2 separate regions of the Homo sapiens genome follow, and region 2 is linked to region 1. Evidence: promoter capture Hi-C in human tissues and cell types (Jung and others, 2019). All regions are on one chromosome and are shown on one strand. The core of a region is centred on a gene start or on the middle of the fragment in contact, and the rest is flanking DNA. Distances in the headings are between cores, read along the strand shown.

What was found. The method cuts DNA at HindIII sites, captures the fragments that hold promoters and counts their contacts. A contact is called where the count stands out against the background at its distance.
Region 2: a fragment that was not itself captured here is called in contact with the fragment with the promoter of CALM1 in region 1 in 1 of the 25 tissues and cell types used here (lymphoblastoid cells).

What each region holds. Positions count from the first base shown.
Region 1 is chr14:90,393,042-90,399,257 of GRCh38, reverse strand. It overlaps CALM1 (calmodulin 1), which reads right to left and starts at 2,229. Exons shown (of 6, transcript NM_006888.6): 1 at 2,025-2,229. The coding sequence starts at 2,027. RefSeq lists enhancers at 498-797, 1,968-2,017, 2,139-2,433 and silencers at 858-927, 968-1,037, 1,118-1,667, 1,678-1,837, 2,118-2,537. The HindIII fragment of the contact is 12,028 bases long and covers 1-6,216 here.
Region 2 is chr14:89,042,450-89,048,665 of GRCh38, reverse strand. LOC105370615 (a long non-coding RNA gene) reads right to left here. Exons shown (of 3, transcript XR_944128.3): 2 at 5,703-6,048. Among named protein-coding and RNA genes, the nearest start is that of TRA-AGC15-1, 66 kb to the right of the region's middle. The HindIII fragment of the contact is 5,119 bases long and covers 1,252-6,216 here.

The DNA of each region.
Region 1 (6,216 bases), core at 980-3,479:
GAAAACTACACAATAATTATCAAACTATATATACTCCTCTCTTTTCTGGCAAAGAGTATCTACTAAATTTGCTGGAGAGTATTAACCCTACCTACCTTAAGAATGACATAAGAACTGTTCTTAATAAACACACTTCGTTGGAGGCAGTAATGGCCACGAAGGTAATTCACCTGCATTATTTGGTCTCCACTGAACCTGTGCCTCCAGCCGAGGGAACTCGAGACCTCAAGGAGAGCTAACGTGGATTTCTCTTTTAAAGAAGGATGCCTAAGAAGCCAATTACAAAATAAGTCCTAATAGAAAGCTGATGAAGTTTATACTCTTAAGTGAAAACTTTAACAGTAGGAATGGTGTTCCAATATATTGATTCTGGGTGAAAATTTGTTTTTACAAATTATAAACGGATCTTTCTTTCTACCTCAATCACTAAAAATTGGCTTTCTTTAAATGACGGAGACACGATGATTTACGTAACGCCAAGGCAACATCTGTCTTGTACAACAGGAAGCGCTGCCACACCTCGCAAGAGAAACTGTCACCTTATGGGGAGAACAGTCCCACCTCGCTACAGAACTCTCTTGTTAGAGGGGTTACCAGGAGCATCCAACTTTCTCGACAACGAAAACCTCCTCCCCCAAATGGCGCTAGCCCTGGGGGCAAAGGTGTACCAGAACCCTGCGGGGAACCATCTCCCCACCCGCCAAACCAGAAACGCAGTCGGTGATGTCAGCCCTGCACGCCGAGGAGGAAGGGGCTGTGGAAAACACACCCAGCGAGGCGCACAGTCGCATCTGGCAATCTAGAGGCTGCAGAGAAAGCAGAAACGTGGAGGGCATCTCTCTGCGGACTGGAAGTGGCGCGGGGCGAGGGACCGGGCAGGGCGCGTGCCCGGGGGCAGGCGTGGGGGGGAAGGCGGCCCCCGAGCGGGCGTCTGGACGCCGCCCCTCCTCGGCCAGGAGGGTCACCACCCCCGGCCCCCGCGCACCAGGGCTGAGGCCAAGGCCACCCGCACCTCCCACCCGCTTCTGCTCCCCCAGGCGACGAGCCCGCGGCGCCGCCGCCTCCTCCCGGAGCAGAAACTTTGCGTCTCTAATGGAAACCAAGCCGCGCGCCAGTTCCCTCCTCCCCCGCCGCCCCCCCCCCCCGCCCCAATTAGCGCGAGCCCAGCGCCTCCCGCGGGAAGTGCCTCCTGGTGCACCGAGGCTCACGCCCGCCCGCACTGCTGCACTGGGTGGGGGGCCGCAGGGTGCGAAAGCGGCAGGAACAAGCCACGGCCACACCGCAGGGCCCCGCCCGGGCGCAGGGCGGCCCGGCCGCCGCTTCCGCCCTCTCCGCCCCCAACCCCTCGCCTTCCTGCCCCCAACCCCACCCTTCCCCGGCTCCTTCCTTCCCAGCCCACGCCCGCGCCGCGCCCCCCGGGAAGAAGGAGGGGAGAGCGACCGAGGGAGGGCGCCCAGCAGGGCCGGCCAAAGTGGGGAGGTGGCGGGCGCTGACTGCGCCCCTCAACACCCGGCCGGAACAATGTGCGCCACCGGCCAGCTCCAGCCCATTCATTCTCCACTGCCCGCCCGACCTGCCACCTTCGCGCCGGCGGAGAAGCGGGGTGGGGAGGGGCGGGCCGGGGGGGGGGGTCTAGTGCCCGGCCCCGCCCGGCTCCCAGGCCGAAACGCTGCGCTGCAGGCAGCCCGGGTGCGGCGCTAGTGGATGCAGTGGGTGCGGGGCTGGGCGGGGGGCAGGGGGATTGGATGCAGAAACCCCCGCTGCAGTTGCGGCCGGAGCCCCTGCCCGTGGACGGCCTACGACCAAGTCCAGCTCCAAGGGGAACCAATAAATGAAGCTCCCTGGCAGAGGTCGCCGAGATGCAAATCCAAAATGCAACCTCCTTTAAGCGCAGCTGCTGCGTAACACTCAGAAAAGAAAAACCTCCAAGAACCAAAAACAAACAAAAAACAAACAAAACAACTAGAAATCTGGGAAGAAATCTCGGGCAGCTGCTACGCCGGCATTTGCCACTCCCGACCTACCATGGTGCGAGCGAAGGGAGGAAGAGCAGAGGGAGCGAGGGTGGCTGCACCAGCGCGGGGGCTGCGACGGCGGGGGTACCTCCGATGCCGCTGCTGCTGCTGCTGCTGCTAAGGCGCGCTGTGCGCTATGCCGCCGCCGCCGCCTGCGCCGCCGCCTGACTACGAGTAACGGCACGGCGTCCACGACACTCCCAGCACCACTGCCGGAGCGCGAGTCTGCGCCCCGCGATATATATATGGTGCGCCGTATCCCTCCGCCGCGGCGGAGCCGCCTCGCGCAGAGCGGCGCTGCGGCAGCCGGGCCTTGCCCGCCTGGTCCCGCCCCCGGGTTCGCCAGGCCTCCCGCCGCCCCCTGCGCGCCAGTCGCGGCGGCCCTACGCTGGGTCGGGGAAGCGTTCTAGGCTGGGCGCGCGGTCTCGGGTCAGGTGTGGCGGGGAGTCCTCAGGAGACGCCCACCCTGGGCGGGGGCGAAGACAGAGCGCCTGCTTAGTCCAACCTGGGGGCGGCCCAGAGCTTCGGAAGCCGTTCACTCCGCTACCTACCCCAGCCTCACCCCACCTGGGTGACCCTCCCACCTCAACATCTCCAACCGCTCCACTAGGGCTGCCGGCTCCCGCGTGCCCCTCGTCCTTGGGTCTGCAGCGGCCACTTCCAGTTTGGGGTGCTGCAGGAGGTCCTGAGAGTAGGGGGTCCGCGGGGAGGTGGAGGCAGATTGGCCACACTCCTTCAGCTGCCGAGGAGAGGGGTCTGCAGAGGACGAGGTAGTTGTCCTCCTGGAAGAAATTGGTCCTCTTCGGATTTTGGAGCAGTATCCGAGTCAAATTATTTATGCTCAGTTGCTAAATCTGTGTCATGCTGCGATGTTTAATCAGTCTTTAATGTTTTTACGTTTCCACTGAATATTTTTTAGGATGCCTGAATATTTCTCCCCTACTATTTTGTTCTTTTTCCTGGCGCCCGTCTTACTAAAATTAGTGTACCTGTGCAGCTTCTACAGACCTTAAACCCAGGCTTTAAATTTTTCGTAATTTTCCTGATCCTGAGAAGGGTCAGAGTCTTTATTCATAAATCCATAGAAACAAGGGAAAAAATAGATGCTTCAAATCCTCTGCATTACAAGTGGAACACACAGCCAATTGCCTCTCTTATGGAGCTAGATTGTATTTTAAACTACAGTTTTGATTATATTCCTTTTAAAAGACTATTTAAATCTTTAAATATACTAGTGTTTTCCATTTTTTATTATATTCCTTTTAAAATAATATTTAAATCTTTAAGTTTACTAGTGTTTTCCATTTTTCTGTAAAGTAGAGAAAGAACAATTTCAGCCAGTAATGTGAACCCCAGGACTTGTAAAAATCTAGACAAAATGCTGCAGTTTCTTTTCTTGCCAAGGCAGAACACAGAATTTGATCTTCTGTTTTACAGGGCCCGGGCAACAGTTGGAGGTTATCATTTGCTTACTGTTTCACAGAATATGGCAAAGTGTGTGATTAACATGCTGTGCTAGAAAGGGCTTTGCTTGCTTGTGTTTGTTTCTGCTTTCAACAAAGTCTGCAGGAATATGTTTTTTAAAAAAGGAAAAATGTACAGGCACATTGCAAATGCCACAGGACTTCTTGGGATAACCTTAGACAAGACGTCAGCATCTGTGGAGCTGTTCCTACTGATGTTCCTTCTGGAATGCCGCAGAAAGAGTGAACCTGCTGTTTAATTTAAAGAGAGGCTGCAGCAGCAAGCCAGGGGATGCTGCCTTCCCTCTGCAGATTAGAAAGACACTATTCACTTCACAAACCTGATCCTAATCCCTGCAAAAAAATAATAATAATACTCCTGGGCTCATAGGGGAAAACCTGAGTAGGAATAAAGCGTGCATACTAATGCGAGAGTTGGAGATAAGGAAATAGAAGAAAAGGGACTAATACAAATTAATTTTAAAGAATATGCAATAATCCAGTCAGTTACAAGCCTAAATGGCCAAACTCCTTATTAAAACTGCATCTTGGCCGGGCGCGGTGGCTCACACCTGTAATCCCAGCACTTGGGGAGGCCGAAGCAGGCGGATCACAAGGTCAGGAGATCGAGACCATCCTGGCCAACATAGTGAAACCTTGTCTCTACTAAAAATACAAAAATTAGCTGGGTGTGGTGGCGCGTGCCTGTAATCTCAGCTACTTTCAGTAGGCTGAGGCAGGAGAATCCCTTGAACCAGGGCATCGGAGGTTGCAGTGAGCCAAGATAGCGCCATCGCATTCCAGCCTGGTGACAGAGCGAGACTCCATCCAATAATAATAATAATACTAAAACTGCTTCTTTCCTAAGGGTATTGGTATTCTTTCTCTGGGGCTTTTCATATAGTAGTTAGTGAAATACATTTTTTCTTTTTTTTTTGAGACAGAGCCTCACTCTGTTGCCCAGGCTGGAGTGCAGTGGTGCAATCTCAGCTCACTGCAACCTTCGCCTTGTGGGTTCAAGCGATTCTCCTGCCTCAGCCCCCTGAGTAGCTGGGATTACAGGTACAGGTGCCTGCCACCACGCCTGGCTAATTTTTGTATTTTTAGTAGAGATGGGGTTTCACCATGTTGGCCAGGCTGGTCTCGAACTCCTGACTTCAAGTGATCCACCTGCCTCGGCCTCCCAAAGTGCTGGGATTACAGGTGTGAGCCACCGCTCCCAGCCAGTGAAATACATTTTAAAACATGATATGCATTGTATAAGTAGGGGGAAATAATGGCCTAGAAATGTGTTTAATTATTAAGGATCTACTCGTTTCTGATAGTCTTCCATTCCTTGTGATTATTTTGGTTAAGTTGCTACAATCTATGGTTTTGAAAGCCAAGCATTCTCTAAAATAATATTTTTCCTCTGTCATTAACCTTATTTCACCTAAATATAACATTTTGAAACTTTTTATGACTTTACTTGCTAAAAACTGTACATTTCAGAATCCTTTTACTTAGTATAGTAAAATTTATTTTCCTGATTCTTCATATTTTACAAACTAGAGTTCTATTTTGGTAATTCTTTAATGTATCAAAGCACATCTTTGCTTTCAAGTTCATCGGGTTTATAATGAGGTCATGCTTGCACAGTTTTATGGACATGCTTTTCACAGTTTGACACTCTGAAATATAAGAAGGTCAAGTGACTTGCCCAGGATCTTACTGTGAGTCAGGGATGGGGCATAAAATAGAGCTTGAGTCCTTGCTCAGGGGCTCTAATTTAGATAATATATTCGTGGTCTTGATATCCGAACATTTTAAAGGCCCAATGTTAGGGGTTTGTCTGTTTCATAAAGCAGATTCTTCTGACTGCCTATTTAGAAATCACTGGGTTTTCATTATCAAATAGACTGCTTTAAGTGAATACACGTCCTAATTTATGAAGAGATCAGCAATCAGGAGAATAAACCGCATTATTGTAATATCATAATTTACTGAGAACCAAAAACCTATGGAACATTTCATATTTAAAGGAAATTGTTCTATAGGAAGTTATTTAAATAAGATAAAAGTAAATGGAAGAAAAGTAAAAACGATGCAGCCTCAAGCCAGGAATCTCATGTTTAAGTATCATTTCCGTCACTAACCAAATCACTCTAACCCTCTGAATCTGACAGAAAGGACACAGATGTAACAAGAGTTTTGTACTTGATGTAGAAATTCCTTCTAGCTGTGAAACCCTGTGTCTGAGGTTATATGATTATAACATATACATATATAACCTCTGTCATATATATGTATACACACATATACATATATTGAAGATGGAGAAATGGAGAATGCAAATGGAGAAATGGAAATAGTTTAAAAATAACAATTACTTGCTCGGCATGGTGGCTGACACCTGTAATCCCAGCACCTTGGGAGGCTGAGGCATGTGGATCATGAGGTCAGGAGTTCAAGACCAGCCTGGCCAACATAGTGAAACCCTGTCTCTACTAAAAATACAAAAAATAAGCTGGGCGTGGTGGCAGGCACCTGTAATCCCAGCTATTCAGAAGACTAAGGCAGGAGAATCGCTTGAACCTGGGAGGCAGATGTTGCAGTCAGCAGAGATCGCACCACTGCACTCCAGCCTGGGCAACAGTACAAGACTCTGTCTCAAAAAATAAAAATAAAAAATAATTACTCAGCATTGACTATGGCCAGGCCTTGTGCTAAATGTATTATTTCATCCTCCTACCCATCCT
Region 2 (6,216 bases), core at 2,562-5,061, 1.4 Mb after region 1:
TACTTTCAAATAATACTATACCATTATATTTAATATATGTATAAAATATAACATGTTATATAGAAGAGGAAAGTGTAGTGATATATTAAGTCACTATACATTGATATAGTGTTGTTTGAAAGTGGGCCTGGATTTGTTGTAAATATATACTGCAAACTCTAGGGCAATCATTATAAAAAGTAAAAGAAAAATAAGTAGAATAATAACACTATTGCCATTTCCACTGGTTGTGTGATTACCTTAAAATAACAAAATAGGCCAGGCACAGTGGCTCACACTTATAATGCCAATACTTTCAGAGGCTGTGGCATGAGGCTCACTTGAGGCCAAGAGTTTGAGACCAGCCTGGACAACACAGTGAGACCCTGTCTCTATGGAAAAAAAAATTAGCTGGGCATGGTGATATGCACCTGTAGTCCTAGCTACTCAGAAGGCTGAGGCAAGAGCATAGCTTGAGTCCAGGAGTTTGAGGCTGCAGTGAGCTATAATTACAACATTGCACTCCAGCCTGAGCAACAGAGCAAGACCCTGACCCTAAAAAAAAAAAAAAAACTTAAAAAAAATCCTAATTCCACCTTTCCACTCCTTATATCATTGTCATTCATTTTACTTACATATAAATATACATAAACACTCATATAACATAAGATATAAACATAAGCATACATAACCAAATACATTGTTGCTATTATTTTGAACAAACTGTTATCTGTTGGATAATTTAAGAATAAGAAAAATAAAAGTTTTTATTTTACCTTCACATATTCTTTCTTTGATGTTCTTCTTTTCTTTATGTGGCTCTGAATTCTGACCTGTATTATTTTCCTTATCTCTGTAAAACTTCTTTTAACATTTCTTGTAAGGCAGATCTACTAGCAACAAATTCCCTCAATTTTTGTCTGCCTGAGAAAGTCTTTATTTCTCCTTTACTTTTGAAAGTTAATGTCAAGGTTACAGAATTCTGGGTTGGTGGGACTTTTTCTTTCAACACTTAATATGTCACTTCACTTTCTTCTTGCTTGCATAGTTGCTGAGGAGGTAGAATGTAATTCTTACCTTTGCTCTTTCTGCATGTAAAATGTTTTCCCCTCTGTCTTCTTTCAGGTTTTTTCTTTATCTTTAATTTTCTGTAGTTGGAAAATTATGTACCTAGGTTTAGAGTTTTGTTTTGTTTGGGCGTTTATCCTGCATTGTGTTCTCTCAGCTTCCTGAATCTGTGGTAACCATTTTGTATGTTAGACCTTTTGTAGTTTTCCCACAGTTTTTGAATAGTCTAAGATTTTCTTTGCTTTCTGTTGTTATTGTTGTCTTTTTGTTTGTTTTGGTCTGTTCTCTTTGCTTTTCAGTCCTGGAGGTTTCTTTTTTTTTTTTCTCTCTTTCTTTTCTTTTTTTTTTTTTTTTTTTTTTGAGGTGTAGTCTCGCTCTGTCGCCAGGCTAGAGTGCAGTGGTGCGATCTCAGTTCACTGCAACCTCCACCTTTCTGGTTCAAGCGATTCTCCTGCCTCAGCCTCCTGAGTAGCTGGGACTACAAGCACGTGCCACCACACCCAGCTAATATTTTTGTATTTTTAGTAGAGACGGGGTTTCACCATGTTGCCAGGATGGTCTCGATCTCTTGACCTTGTGATCCGCCCACCTCGGCCTCAAAGTGCTGGGATTACAGGCGTGAGCCACCGCGCCTGGCCGGAGATTTCTACTGATACATTCTCAAGCTCGGAAATTCTTTCTTCCGCCATGTCCGGTTTACTAATAAGCCCATCAAAAGCATTCTTCATTTGCTATAGTGTTTTAGATCTCTAACATTGCTTTTTTATTATTTCTTAGGCTTCTCATCTCTCTGCTTACACTGTCCATCTGTTTTTGCATACTGTCTACTTTTGCATTAGAACCATTGGCATATTCATCATAATTATTTTAAATTCTCTGCCTGATAGTTCCAATATCTGTATTATGTCTGGTTCTGACTTACTCTGTCTCTTCAAACTGTGTTTTTATCTTTTAGCATGCTTTGGAATTTTTTCATGATAGCGAGATACAATGTCCCCAGCACTGGTTCCCATGGAGGTTTTTGCTGTAGTATGTTGTGATTGTCTGTATCCACCTGTCTGTCTCTCCAGTTCTGGGGACAGCAGTGTGCCCTGAGCTCTCATTTCTGCTACAGATCTAAGAGTTCTTGATTTTCTAGTTTCTTTAGCTTTTTGCTTGTTTGGATGGAGTGGAAAGTTCAAGTGTTCTACATTCAACACTGGAAAACAATTCTTTTTGGCTTATTTCTTCAACTTTGTATAAATTGAATCACATTGTTTGCTTTTTTTTTTTTTTTTGAAATTTGCTTTCTTCACTCAACATCAGGGTTGAGATTCATACATGTGAATGGATGTGGCTGTGGTTACTTTATTTTCACAATAGCATTATATTACACTTTGTGACTACACCACAATTTATGCATCCATTCTTCCATTCTTGGCAAGTTGGGTTGAATGTGACTCCTAGTGCACATATGCAAGGGTTTTACTGGGTTTAGGGTATGTGCATCTTCCACCTTAAAAATAATGCCACGGCTGGGCGCGGTGGCTCACACCTGTAATCCCAGCAATTTGGAAGGCCTAGGCGGATGGATCACCTGAGGTCAGGAGTTCAAGACCAGCCTGGCCAACATGGCAAAACCCCATCTCAACTAAAAATACAAAAATTAGCTGGGCGTGGTGGCACGCGCTTGTAATCCCAGCTCCTCAGGAGGCTGAGGCATGAGAATCGCTTGAACCCGGGAGGTGGAGGATGCAGTGAGCCAAGATCACACCACTGTACTTTGGCCTGGGGAATAGAGCGAGACTCTGTCTCAAAAAAAACAAACAAACAAACAAAAAAAGCCAAACGGTTTTCCCAAAACAACAATTTATATTCCCATTAGCAGCATGTAAAAGTCCCCCTGGCTCTCTATCTTTGCCAACACTTGGTATTGCCAGATACTTTAAAAATATTCACCTGGGACAATGTGGTTATTAAATAGTAAGTAGCTCCTTGTCTTAAACTACCTTTTCTCAATGTACTGAGGTTGACCATTTTTTCAAATGTTTATTGGTCATTGTATGGTCTTTCCCAGAAGACCATACAATGTTGTCCTTTAAAAGATTGAATTGTCTGTCTTTTCTTTATTGATTTGTAGACTTCAGATATTCCAGATACTAATCCTTTGTTAAGTAGATGAAGCAGATCTCTTCTCTCTGTTTGTGACATATCTTTTAGTTTCTTTATAGTATTATATATTTTGATAGAAAAAGTTTATAATTTTAATGTAATCAAATTTATCACTCTATTCATTTATGGCTTCCTCTTTTGCCTTGTTTAGGAAATCTTTCTGTATATGCTGAGGTCATATGAATATTCTTCTATAATACAATTTTTTCTGTAATATGATTTTTAAACCATTTTAATGCCGTGGACCCTTTGTCATGTTGGTAAAGGTAAAAAATGAAACTCATAGAATTACAAAGAAAACCAATTATGCTGAAATATAGTTATTAAAATATTTAAAGTGATGATATATAACACATGTGCTCCTTCTTAATGCATTAAATATCAAGATTTAGCAGAATATCTAATAACTGCTGTAAATTTCCAAGTACTGAGTGCATAAATAATATTATGAGATACCTGCAATAACTATAATACGACATAAACCTATCTGTATTTTTATTAGTGGCAAAGTCACAGATACTGCAAGGCTACTATGGTCTGTTGTCCATGATCATAATTGAATCTTTAATTTTTCAGTTTGGGATTTGTGAAAATAAACATTAATTTTTTTCCTATCCATGATCATGAATGTACTGAATTATGCTCAACAAACCAGTGGATGTCTGTGGAACCCAGGTTAAAATCCTTTATATAATATATTCTAAATTTTTAAACTGTTCATCTTTCTCTTTTTTTATTTTATCAATAAGAATTTGTTTCTTTATAGTGTATATATTTATTTTTCCCCCTCTTTTTGACTAATTTATCCTTTCCCCTTTGGATCTGCAATATTAGTGCTGGCTTACATCACACTTCTATATGTGTTTCTGGGCTCTTTATTCCATTCTGATTTAGATTTTGATCTATGTAAATACCACATTGTCTTAATTACTATTGACTGTGAAGTAAGTCTGACATCTAATAGACAAGACTCCCTACTTTCTTTGTTGGCTCTTCTTCGTCCTTTGCTTTTTTATGCTAATTTTTTAAAAAGCTTGTCAAATTCCATGAAGAAAAGCCTATTTGAATGTTGATTGAACTGAACTGAATTTATAAACCATTTATTTATACCTTTTGATGAAATTTTATGTATTTTTTTCCATGAAAGACTTGTACCTCTTTCCCCCCACCACCACCCCGAGATGGAATCTTGCTCTGTCACCCAGGCTGGAGTGCAGTGGTGTGATCTTGGCTCACTGCAACCTTCACCTCCCCAGTTTAAGCAATTCTCCTGCCTCAGCCTCCTGAGTAGCTGGGATTACAGGTGTGTGCCACCACGCCTGGCTAATTTTTTTTTTTTTTTTTTTTTTTTTTTGGTATTTTTAGTAGAGACGGGGTTTCACTGTGTTGGCCAGGCTGGTCTTGAACTCCTAACCTCGTGATCCACCTGCCTTGGCCTCCCAAAGTGCTGGGATTACAGGCATGAGCCACCGTGCCCAGCCACACATCTTTTGACAGATCTACTCCTAGGTTTGTTCTCTCTCTGTCTCGCTCTTTCTCTCTGCCTCTCTCTTTCTCTCTGCCCACTTTTCCCCTACTTATTTGCTGCTGTTGCAACTGGAAACTGTTTTTTAAATTATATTTCTTATCTCTTTGTTGCTGGTGTATAGAAAATCAACTGCTTTTGAATATTGATCTTTTATCCCTTAAACTTACTAAACTCACTTATTAATGCTAATAATTTAGCTGTAGATTCCTTGAGTTTTTTTATGAAAATAATCTTTTTTTATTTTTAAATTATTATTATACTTTAAGTTTTAGGGTACATGTGCACAACGTGCAGGTTTGTTACATATGTATACATGTGCTATGTTGGTGTGCTTCACTCGTCATTTAGCACCTTCAGTGAATATCTGTTTTTCTTCTTTGATTCCAAGTGTTATATCTTTTGTTTCTTTTTCTTGGTTTATTGTTCTGGCTAGTACCCTCAGTACAGTATTGAATAGAAGTGGGGATTAAAAAAAAACTGTTAACCTTTAAGTATGATGTTTGTTACGGATGTTTGGTAGAAATTCTGCATTAGGTTGAAGAAATTTCTATTTCTAGTTCACTAATTTTTTAAAAAATCGTGAGTGGATGTTATTAGGTCTTTTTTTTGATTTTGTTCTTGAAGGCGATAAACAGGAAAGCATGTGTATATGCCAATGGAAAAGACCCACTAAGAAAAGGGAAATTGAGGATGCAAAAGAGAGGAAATAACCCAAACACAGAAAGTCATCGAGAAGGCTGAGGGTGGATTTGTATACATTTCTTTAATGATATAAAGCACTTAACATAATGCCTGGTCTATTAGTTTCCTATTGCTGTAACCAATTACCACAAACATAGTGTCTTAAATCAACACAAATTTATTATCTTACAGTTCTGGAGGTGAGAAGTCTAAAATTAGTTTCACTTGGCTAAAGTCAAGGTATAGGCAGTACTGCATTTCTCCCGGAGGTGCCACAGGAGAATATGCTTCTTACCTCTTCCAGCTTAGAGGCTGCCAACAATCCTTGGCTTGTGGCCCCGTCCTCCATCTTCAAAGCCAGTTGCACAGCATCTTCAAATCTGCTTCCATTATCACATTGACTTTTCCTTATATAAGAACCTTTGTCAATGATTAAGCCCATCAGATAATCCAGGATAGTCTCTCCATCTCAAAATCCTTAATTTGCCAAGAGCAGTAGTGCATCCCAGTAGTCCTAGCTACTCAGGAGGCTGAGGCAGGAGGATTGCTTGAGTCCAGGAGTTTGAGACTGTAGTGTGCTGTGATAATGTCTATGAACAGCCACTGCATTCCAGCCGAGGCAACATAGCAAGACCCTATCACTAAAATAAGAAAAAAAGAATCCTTAATTCAATCACATCTGCAAAATCCTTTTTGCCATATAGGGTAATATTCACAGGTTCCAGGGATTAGGATGTGGACATCTTTGGGGTTCATTATTCAGCCTCCCATACTCAGCATACATTGGATTAAACCATATACATTGGGTT